2 separate regions of the Homo sapiens genome follow, and region 2 is linked to region 1. Evidence: promoter capture Hi-C in 16 types of primary human blood cells and fetal thymus (Javierre and others, 2016). All regions are on one chromosome and are shown on one strand. The core of a region is centred on a gene start or on the middle of the fragment in contact, and the rest is flanking DNA. Distances in the headings are between cores, read along the strand shown. Region 1 holds the start of KLHL22 (kelch like family member 22). Region 2 overlaps ZDHHC8 (zDHHC palmitoyltransferase 8).

Region 1 (4,214 bases), core at 968-3,467:
AAGACCAGCCTGGCCAACATAGTGAAACCCCATCTCTACTAAAAATACAAAAAAATTAGCCGGGCATGGTGGTAGGTGCCTATAATCCCAGCTACTTGGGAGGCTGAGGCAGGAGAATCACGCCACTGCATTCCAGCCTGCATGACAGTGCGAGACTCCGTCTCAAAAACAAAAAAACAAACAAAAAAACAATGTGCAAAGTAGGCTGGGCACAGTGGCTCATGCCTGTAATCCCAGCACTTTGGGAGGCCAACGTGGGAGGATCACCTGAGGTCAGGAGTTCAAGACCAGCCTGGCCAACATGAGGAAGCCCCATCTCTACTAAAAATACAAAAATTAGTGGGGCGTGGTGGCGCATGCCTGTTATCCCAGCTACTGGGAAGGCTGAGGAAGGGGGAAGCTGAGGCAGGAGAATCGATTGAACCCAGGAGGTGGAGGTTGCAGTGAGCCAAGATTGTGCCATTGCACTCCAGCCTGGGCGACAGAGCCAGACTTTGCCCCCCCCCCAAAAAAAAAAGTGCAAAGTAGGCTGGGCATGGTGGCTCATGCCTGTAATCCCAGTGCCTTGGGAGGTCCAGGTAGGTGGAGTTCAAGACCACCTTGGGCAATATAGCGCGACCCTTTCTCTACAAAAAATTTAAAAATTAACTAGGCATGGTGGTGTACACCTGTAGTCCTGGCTATCTGGGGTGAGACAGCTTGGGGTTCACTGCAGTCTCAAGCTCCCAGGTTCAAGTGATCCTCCCACCTCAGCTTCCTCAGAAGCTGGAACAACAGGAGCTCACCACTGCGCCCGGCTAATTTTTCAAATTTTCTTTGTAGAGAAGAGGTTTCACTATATGGTGTAGGCTAGAGTGCAGTGGTAGGGTCTTGGCTCACTGCAGCCTTCATCTCCTGGGTTCAAGCGATTCTCCTACCTCAGCCTCCCGAGTAGCTGGGATTACAAGCACGTGTCACCACACCCAGCTAATTTTTGTATTTTTAGTAGAGACGGGGTTTCACCATGTTGGCCAGGCTAGTCTCTCCTGACCTCAGGTGATCTGCCAGCCTTGGCCTCCCAAAGTGCTGGGATTACAGGCATGAGCCACCGCGCCCGCCCCCAGTCTCATATCCCCAATTTTAGTCATCACAAGCCAAGTTCCCCGTTTTGTACTGTTCGAAGTTTCAGTGGGGAGAAGAAAGGAAGCTTAATGTGCCACATAGCTACAAACTGAAGGATACAAGATGAATTTTTATGAAGTGATGGATGGCAGAGTCAAAATCATTTCAGAGGAACTTTCAGTTCGGTACGATTTTACTGAGTAGATACCCTCAGCCTTCTGTAGGGCCCCCGAACGAGCAGTATCCCCTCAAAGAAACTCAATCCTTGGCAGCATGAAGCAAGGTCGGCCACAAAGGCAAAGGGGGCGGCTGCGGTAGAGGAGAGGGAGTGGGTGCTGATTCCCAGCGGGGCAGCCTTCCAAAGGGTGCGCTCTGGAAGAATCTCCCAGGGAGCCGTCTTGGAGGCACTCGGCCCCGCGGAGGGCCGGAGCGAGGGCGCCCAGTGAGGAGCCCAGGCGGAAGGTGGCGGTGCCCCGCTGCCCGCCCCAGATCCACTCGGCTCGGCCCGCACCGGATCTAAAATGGTCAGAACTGGCAGCCGACGCTTCGCGCTCTGGTGATTTTGCACTGACAGCGCGATCTCCGGCTCCTCTCAGGAAACCGGGAGAGCTGGCAAGGCTGGGCTCCTACGGCTGCAGTCCCCGGGCCCGATCGAGGGAACTGAGGCTCGTCAGGCCGGCCCCAAATCGCCCGCCTGTTGCAAGGCCGCCCGCTCCAGCGCGGAGGGTCGCGGCCAGGAAGGCCGCATTCGGACCTGCCGCAGGCAACAGGGCCCGCCCGGGTGCCAGGAGGCCGGCGCGCCAGCAGCCGCGCTGAGGAGGCCTCGCACCCTGGCCCCTGGCCGAGCGCCAGATCCCGGCCCCTACGCGCCCGCGCCCGGGGATCCCGCCGGCCGCGTCCCCGCCACGTCAGGCCGCGGGCTCTCCTCAGGTCGCCGCCCCCGAGCCTCCGGCCCGCGCCCGCCCCCGCGCCCCTCGGACTCCGCGCCGCTAGCTTGTCCCCGGCCCAGCGATGCCTGCTTGCCGCCCGACCCCCGCGTTCGCTGCCGCCCGGCCCGTTCGGCTCACGCCTCGCAGCTGACCTGGTGCCGCCGCCAGCCGAGGCCGCACTCGCAGCTGGAGGGAGGCGGGAGGCGGGAGGCGGGAGGCGCGAGGCGGGAGGCTGGGCGAGAGGAGCCGGCGGGGCGGGGGCCTGGGCCGTCACGTGGGTGCGCCGCGCAGGCGCCGGGCGGGCCAGACGTAGGCCCGGGGGTTCCCGGCCTGGCCGGGTAGCAGCGCGGGGGCGGCCCTGGGGCGGGGAGACAGGGGGCGGCTCCACTCCGGCGCTCTGCGGAGGACAGCAGCGATCGCCAAGGCTCAGTGAGTCCCCGCACTAGCGCGGCACCTGGCACTTGGCGGGGCCGAACCAACGAATGAGCGAATTTGCCGAGAGTCGCCCCGTCTGAATCCATTGACTCTTTCCTTGCCTCGGTCCTACCCTCATTCCTCGACTCACTTCCTCCTGCCCTTCCTCACTATCTCCCTCCCCGCTCATATCCTCCCTCTCCTTTCCTCATTCCCTTCTTCACTCTCTTCTCTCCTCTCTTACTCCCCCCCTCTCATTCCCTCCCTCCTTCACTCTCTCATTCCTTCCCTTCCTATCTTACCCACCATTCCCTTCCTCCCTCACTCATTCACTCCCTCCCTGTCTCCCCCTCTCATCCCCTCCCTCTCTCATTCCCTTTCCCTCCCTCCTTAACTCTCGTTCTCTCCTCCCTCTCTCATTCCTTCCCTCCCTGTCTCATTTCCCCCCTTCTTTCCCTCCCTCCCTCTCCTCTTCTCCCATTGCCTCCCTCCCTCTTTGATTCCCTTCTTTCCTCCTCTCCTCCACTTGTTCCCTTCGTCACGCGCTCATTCCCTCCCTCCCGCGGCCTGCTCCTTCCCCGCTCCCTCCGCGGTCGGTGCCGCTGACCGTAGCGCGCCCCCTGCGGGATATCGGGGAGAATCGCTTAACACCGCCAGAGTGAACAGGTGCTAGTTTGTGTGCCCGTTCCTTTACTGAGATTTTGCAGTAAATCTAATTCCCAGTCTTAAAGCCTGGTCCCAGAGGTCCGTGCGCGGGTCTTGGCATTCATTGTTCTCCACCTCACCTTCGAGCAGGTCCCATCCTCCGAGGCGTATCCGTAATGGCTGCGCCCAGAGCTTGGAGCCACAGAGCCTCCTGATGGGATAAGGTTGGAGTGTCCCACACTGTGGTTTTGAGAGGGACTGTGAAGGGTGGAGAGAGTGGTAGGGGGAGGATGTGGCTGGAGATGGCTCATGGTTAAAAAGAAAGGTGGGGCCGGGCTTGGTGGCTGGCGCCTGTAATCCCAACACTTTGGGAGGCCGAGACGGGCGGATCACGAGGTCAGGAGATGGAAACCATCCTGGCCAACATGGTGAAACCCCATCTCTACCAAAACACACACAAAAAAACTAGCCGGTCGTGGTGGCGCGCACCTGTAGTCCCAGCTACTCGGGAGCCTGAGGCAGGAGAATCGCTTGAACCCGGGAGGCAGAGGTTGCAGTGAGCCGAGATCACGCGCCACTGCACTCCAGCCTGGTGACAGAGCGAGACTCCGTCTCAAAAAAAAAAAAAAAAAAAAAAAAAAAAATTGGTGGAAGGGGAATGTAAAAGGAGGAAAATACACGGAAGAGAATTGCTGTCCTGGCTGAGTCCAGAGAGATAACTGAGGGTCCCAGACAAGGATCAAGAGAACGGGATTGGCCTCCAGAGGCAGAGGTTCCAAATGGGAGTGGGCTTCCTCCTAGAAAGACTTTCTGGAGGAGACCCCCCTACTGTGTAACAGAGGAGGACTTTGGGATTAAGAAAAGCATTCCAGGAAGCCGACAGTGTCAGCAAACGTGGAGGTGAGATCCTTCAAAGTGAGTGGTGTGGAGGTTTCCAGAATTTTCTGAGCCTGAAGGGAAGGTTGGAGAGCAGACCCTGCCCTTTGGAGGCTTGACTTAGCCCTGAGGGCACCCTGTAGCCAGGGTGGGCAGATGCCAATATGGTAGAGACGAAGACTGAGTAGGGAGCCAGCCACAGTGCTGTGGTCTCAGGCAGGGAGTGAAGACCAGAGTGGAGCAGGCTAG
Region 2 (4,214 bases), core at 1,119-3,618, 360 kb before region 1:
GGCTGGCAGCCAGCGCAGGTGCAGAGGGGCCCCGAGGCTTCCATCCTGAGGTCAGCACTGGGAGGACAGAGGCTGCCTCCTTGCAGCCCGAGGGTTGACCAATGGCACTCGCCGCATCCCTTCCCAGAGCAGGCCAGCCCCACGGGCATCATGAGGGCCTGCGTTTGGTTTAATGCTCCGCTGTCAACATCTTGAAATTCTCTGTAATTTTTAAATAAGGGGCCCGCAGTTTCATTTTGCACAGACTATGTAGCCAGCCTTCCCCAGAAGGCTCGTGGAGAGCTCCACAGGCCCTGCCTCTCCCTGGGGGAGCTGCTCACCTGCCTGTGCCCATCTTGTTGGGCCGACCCTGCCTTAGGGGCCTGTGGTCCTGGCTGAATGGCGTTGCATTGGAGGCCAGGCACATGTTTGAGTGCTGCCTGTGTGCCAGGCAGGGCTGGGGAGGGTGGAAGGAAGCCTGGGGGCTGAGCCACTGGGCAGGGACAGGGAGAGCCCTCCCAGCAGAGGGAGGTGTGGCCGCAGCTGTGTCCTCACCCTGGTGTCTACCTCCACGGGCTGGGCCCTGGACAAGAGGAAGGGTAACTTGGGCTCCCAGCCCCGCCGAGGATGGCTGTCGTGGGAAGCGGAGTCTTTAAATAGCCTCTTGCTTTCCACTAAAAATAGTGAAGCTCTGCTGCCGTGGAGGTGGTTGCCGGGGCGGCGGGGCTGGCTCTTGGCCAGGCGGGCGTGGGTGCAGCAGCGTGGCCACGTGCGCTGGAGTGGTAGGCAGCGCGTGGGCCCCATCCACTGCTAGTGGCCATAGAGGTCAGGGCTGCTGTGGGGGATCCCCACTAGCCCCCCGACTATGCAGAGGGCCTGGGTGCAGGGAGGGACGCAAACCCCTGTGTTCCTGTCCCTGCTGCTTGTCACAGCAGCTGTCTCAGGGTGCGCAGGGGAGAGACAAGGAGCCTGAGGCCAGAGGGGCTTCTTGGAAGCTGAGTGGGTGGATTTAGGAACCCGCTGCAGGCCGTGTGGCCCGAGGACCGGCAAGTCTCTTCAGAGGGGACTCGGGCCAGGCCCGTTAAGGGCTGAGGAAGGCGCCTTTCAGGAAGGTGTGTGAGGGCACACCTTATAGGGAAGCTGCAGAGGGCAGCCTGGAGTCCTGGAAAGCTTCCCGGAAGAGGGGGTGGCCTTGGAGCCAAGTGCTGATGGCTGGGAAGATGGGAAGTGGTGGGGGGTGTTGTGCATTCTAGAGTCCCTAAGTGTTCTACTTTGTCATCTGGGGAGGGAGGTGACAAACTAAAAAGAAGGGGCTGTCTGGATGGGGATGTGCCTGACTGGGAAGAGTAGGGGAGACATGCCCCATGCACTTACTGACCAAGGACTGGGGCTCCCCACACCCCAGAATCTGCCTGGTGAGAGGCCCCACTGGGCCAGGGACAGGCCTGGATGAGGCATCGTGGCGCATTTTCCATCTGGGGCTCCCACCTCCAGCCTGTGTACCGCCCCCGCCCCCTACCCCGCCCCAGTCATGGAGCCTAGGTCGCTGGAATGGGGTGACCTTAGGTCTGTGGGCCTCTCTGAGACGGCTGCCCTGAGAGGTTGCCGGGTCAGGGCACGGGTAGCCCACATGCTGTACTGATACGCACAGCCTCTGGCCGTTACTCGAAGGAGCGATGTGGCTGAGGTTTCTTGGCAGGGCTGTGGCAGCCTCCCCACTGCCTCTGAGCTCTGAGGGTGACCTTGCAGGCCCAGCCTGCCGCACCACATAGCTCTGCGCCTGCATCCGCTCTGCACCCCCAGACTCCACTCTCTGCCCCCACTGTCTACTGCAGGTGCCCGTGGTTGACACGAGCTGTGTCCCCAGCTGTTCCCGTCTACAATGGCATCATCTTCCTCTTTGTCCTGGCCAACTTCAGCATGGCCACTTTCATGGACCCTGGTGTTTTCCCCCGAGGTAGGGCCCTGTGCTGCGGCAGCTCCTCTCACTTTCACTAGAGTGTGAGTGGCTAACTTGAGACAGCCTTAGGGATTCCTGGTGGGTGGGCTGGACTTGGGGGAGGGATTCACCTGCCAGGAAAGTCAACTTCCTGCTCACTGCCTGGCTCCTGGTCTGTAGCGGATGAGGATGAGGACAAGGAGGACGACTTCCGGGCTCCGCTGTACAAGAACGTGGATGTGCGAGGTATCCAGGTCCGCATGAAGTGGTGTGCCACGTGCCACTTCTACCGCCCGCCGCGCTGCTCCCACTGCAGCGTCTGTGACAACTGTGTAGAGGTGACCGCCCTGCTGCCCCGCGCTCCCCCAGCCCTGTGCCACATCCCTGCCTGCCATGTGCCCTGATGCACTGCTCCCGCCCAGGACTTTGACCACCACTGCCCCTGGGTCAACAACTGCATCGGGCGTCGAAACTATCGCTACTTCTTCCTGTTCCTGCTGTCACTCAGTGCACACATGGTGGGCGTCGTGGCCTTCGGCCTGGTCTACGTGCTGAACCACGCTGAGGGGCTGGGAGCCGCGCACACCACCATCACGTATCCTTGGTTCCTGTGGGCCTCATTGCAGAGGCGATGTGGACCGGGGACACGTTCACCAGGGAGATTGAGCCTCAGAAGGCTTGGTTCCTGCCCAGGGATCCCCAGTGGGCAGGTGGCCGTCCCTAGGTTGGGAGGAGGTTTGTCCACAGGCACCTGCTCTGTGCTGCTGCGATGGGGTCTGCGGTGTCCTGGCCTGCACCGTTGGCCTTAACGGGCTAGCATGGCTGTCATGTGTGTGGCCGGCCTCTTCTTCATCCCTGTCATTGGCCTCACTGGCTTCCATGTGGTGCTGGTCACTCGGGGGCGCACCACCAACGAGCAGGTGCAGACCCCATGGGGGATGGGTGGCCCCAAAGGGCCGAGAGAGTTGGGGCTGCATGGGGACAGGGTGGGGGCTGGGGCACCCTTGCCTGAGGTAGCTTGTGCAGCTGTGTTGAGACGAGGCTCCAACTCTGAGACCCCCACGTGGGGCTACGCCTGCCCCGTCCCCTGCGCACATCCTGCCTGTGGACACTGTGGCCACCAGTGACCCAGAAATCCCACAGCTCCCTGCAAGTTCAGGCTGGGTAACCTATGTGAGGGGCAGCCCTGGGCTGATCCCACCTAAGCCACTTCCCGCAAGTATCAGCTTCTAAGGAACCCCAGCTCCCTTGCCCAGCCCCCTGCCCACCCTGGCCTGGACCTTGGGAGGCCAGGCTGGCTGAGGGTCCTGCATCCACAGGTGACTGGGAAGTTCCGCGGGGGTGTGAACCCTTTCACCCGAGGCTGCTGTGGGAATGTGGAGCACGTGCTGTGTAGCCCCCTGGCGCCCCGGTGAGGCCCGGCCTGGGCAGGGTGGAGGGGGGCCTCTGCTGGGTGTGGGGCGGGCAGCCTTAGACCCTCTTGGTCCGTTTGGCTCTTGCCAGGTATGGCCAGCCCTGCCCTTGTGTGTTTGTGGCAGGTGGGCTGGCTACTGACCCCTGTGCCCTGGTGCAGGTACGTGGTGGAGCCACCCCGGCTGCCGCTCGCGGTGAGTTTGAAGCCGCCTTTCCTTAGGCCTGAACTCCTGGACCGAGCTGCACCGCTCAAGGTCAAGCTTAGTGACAACGGGCTGAAGGCTGGCCTGGGCCGTAGCAAGGTGGGCGCCTGGGCTTAGGGATGGGCTGGCAGTCAGGCCCTTGGATGGGGAAACAGGCAGGTTGGTGGGGGCCTAGAAGAGGTGGATGGGGCAGACAGAGCCGTAGACAGATTCTTGGGAGGGGGCTAGGTCCCAGGCTGAATCCCTAGTGAAGCCCTGCCCCTCATCCAAGCCCCACACACCACTGACCCCGCTCCCTCCCAGTCCAAGGGCAGCCTGGACCGGCTGGATGAGAAGCCACTGGACTTGGGGCCACCACTGCCCCCCAAGATAGAGGCTGGCACGTTCAGCAGTGACCTGCAGACCCCGCGCCCAGGCAGTGCTGGTGAGGTTGGGGCAGCCACGACTAGGGAGGGATATGGGTTGACCCTCCTCTGACCTCAGTCTGACAGTGGTCTGCATCCCCAGAGAGTGCCCTGTCGGTGCAGAGGACCAGCCCCCCGACACCTGCCATGTACAAGTTTAGGCCGGCTTTCCCCACGGGTCCCAAGGTGCCCTTCTGTGGACCAGGCGAGCAGGTAAGGAGGCCTAGCCTGCCCCCTGGCAGGCCTCGTCCCCCAGGCCCGCCTCTAGGAGCTCGC

The links. The method cuts DNA at HindIII sites, captures the fragments that hold promoters and counts their contacts. A CHiCAGO score of 5 or more calls a contact.
Region 2: a contact is called between a fragment that was not itself captured here and the fragment with the promoter of KLHL22 in region 1, in 6 of 17 cell types (M0 macrophages, erythroblasts, fetal thymus and 3 more). The highest score is 6.8, in M0 macrophages.

Annotation. Positions count from the first base shown.
Region 1 is chr22:20,493,578-20,497,791 of GRCh38, forward strand. It overlaps KLHL22 (kelch like family member 22), which reads right to left and starts at 2,218. Exons shown (of 7, transcript NM_032775.4): 1 at 2,183-2,218. LOC101928824 (a long non-coding RNA gene) reads left to right here and starts at 2,336. Exons shown (of 4, transcript XR_007068011.1): 1 at 2,336-3,110. RefSeq lists a silencer at 1,878-2,537 and an enhancer at 2,732-3,384. The HindIII fragment of the contact is 9,275 bases long and covers 1,185-4,214 here.
Region 2 is chr22:20,137,380-20,141,593 of GRCh38, forward strand. ZDHHC8 (zDHHC palmitoyltransferase 8) reads left to right here. Exons shown (of 11, transcript NM_013373.4): 2 at 1,815-1,936; 3 at 2,099-2,256; 4 at 2,341-2,513; 5 at 2,736-2,838; 6 at 3,238-3,329; 7 at 3,492-3,633; 8 at 3,838-3,958; 9 at 4,042-4,151. Among named protein-coding and RNA genes, the nearest start is that of ZDHHC8, 7.7 kb to the left of the region's middle. RefSeq lists an enhancer at 205-804. The HindIII fragment of the contact is 2,442 bases long and covers 1,148-3,589 here.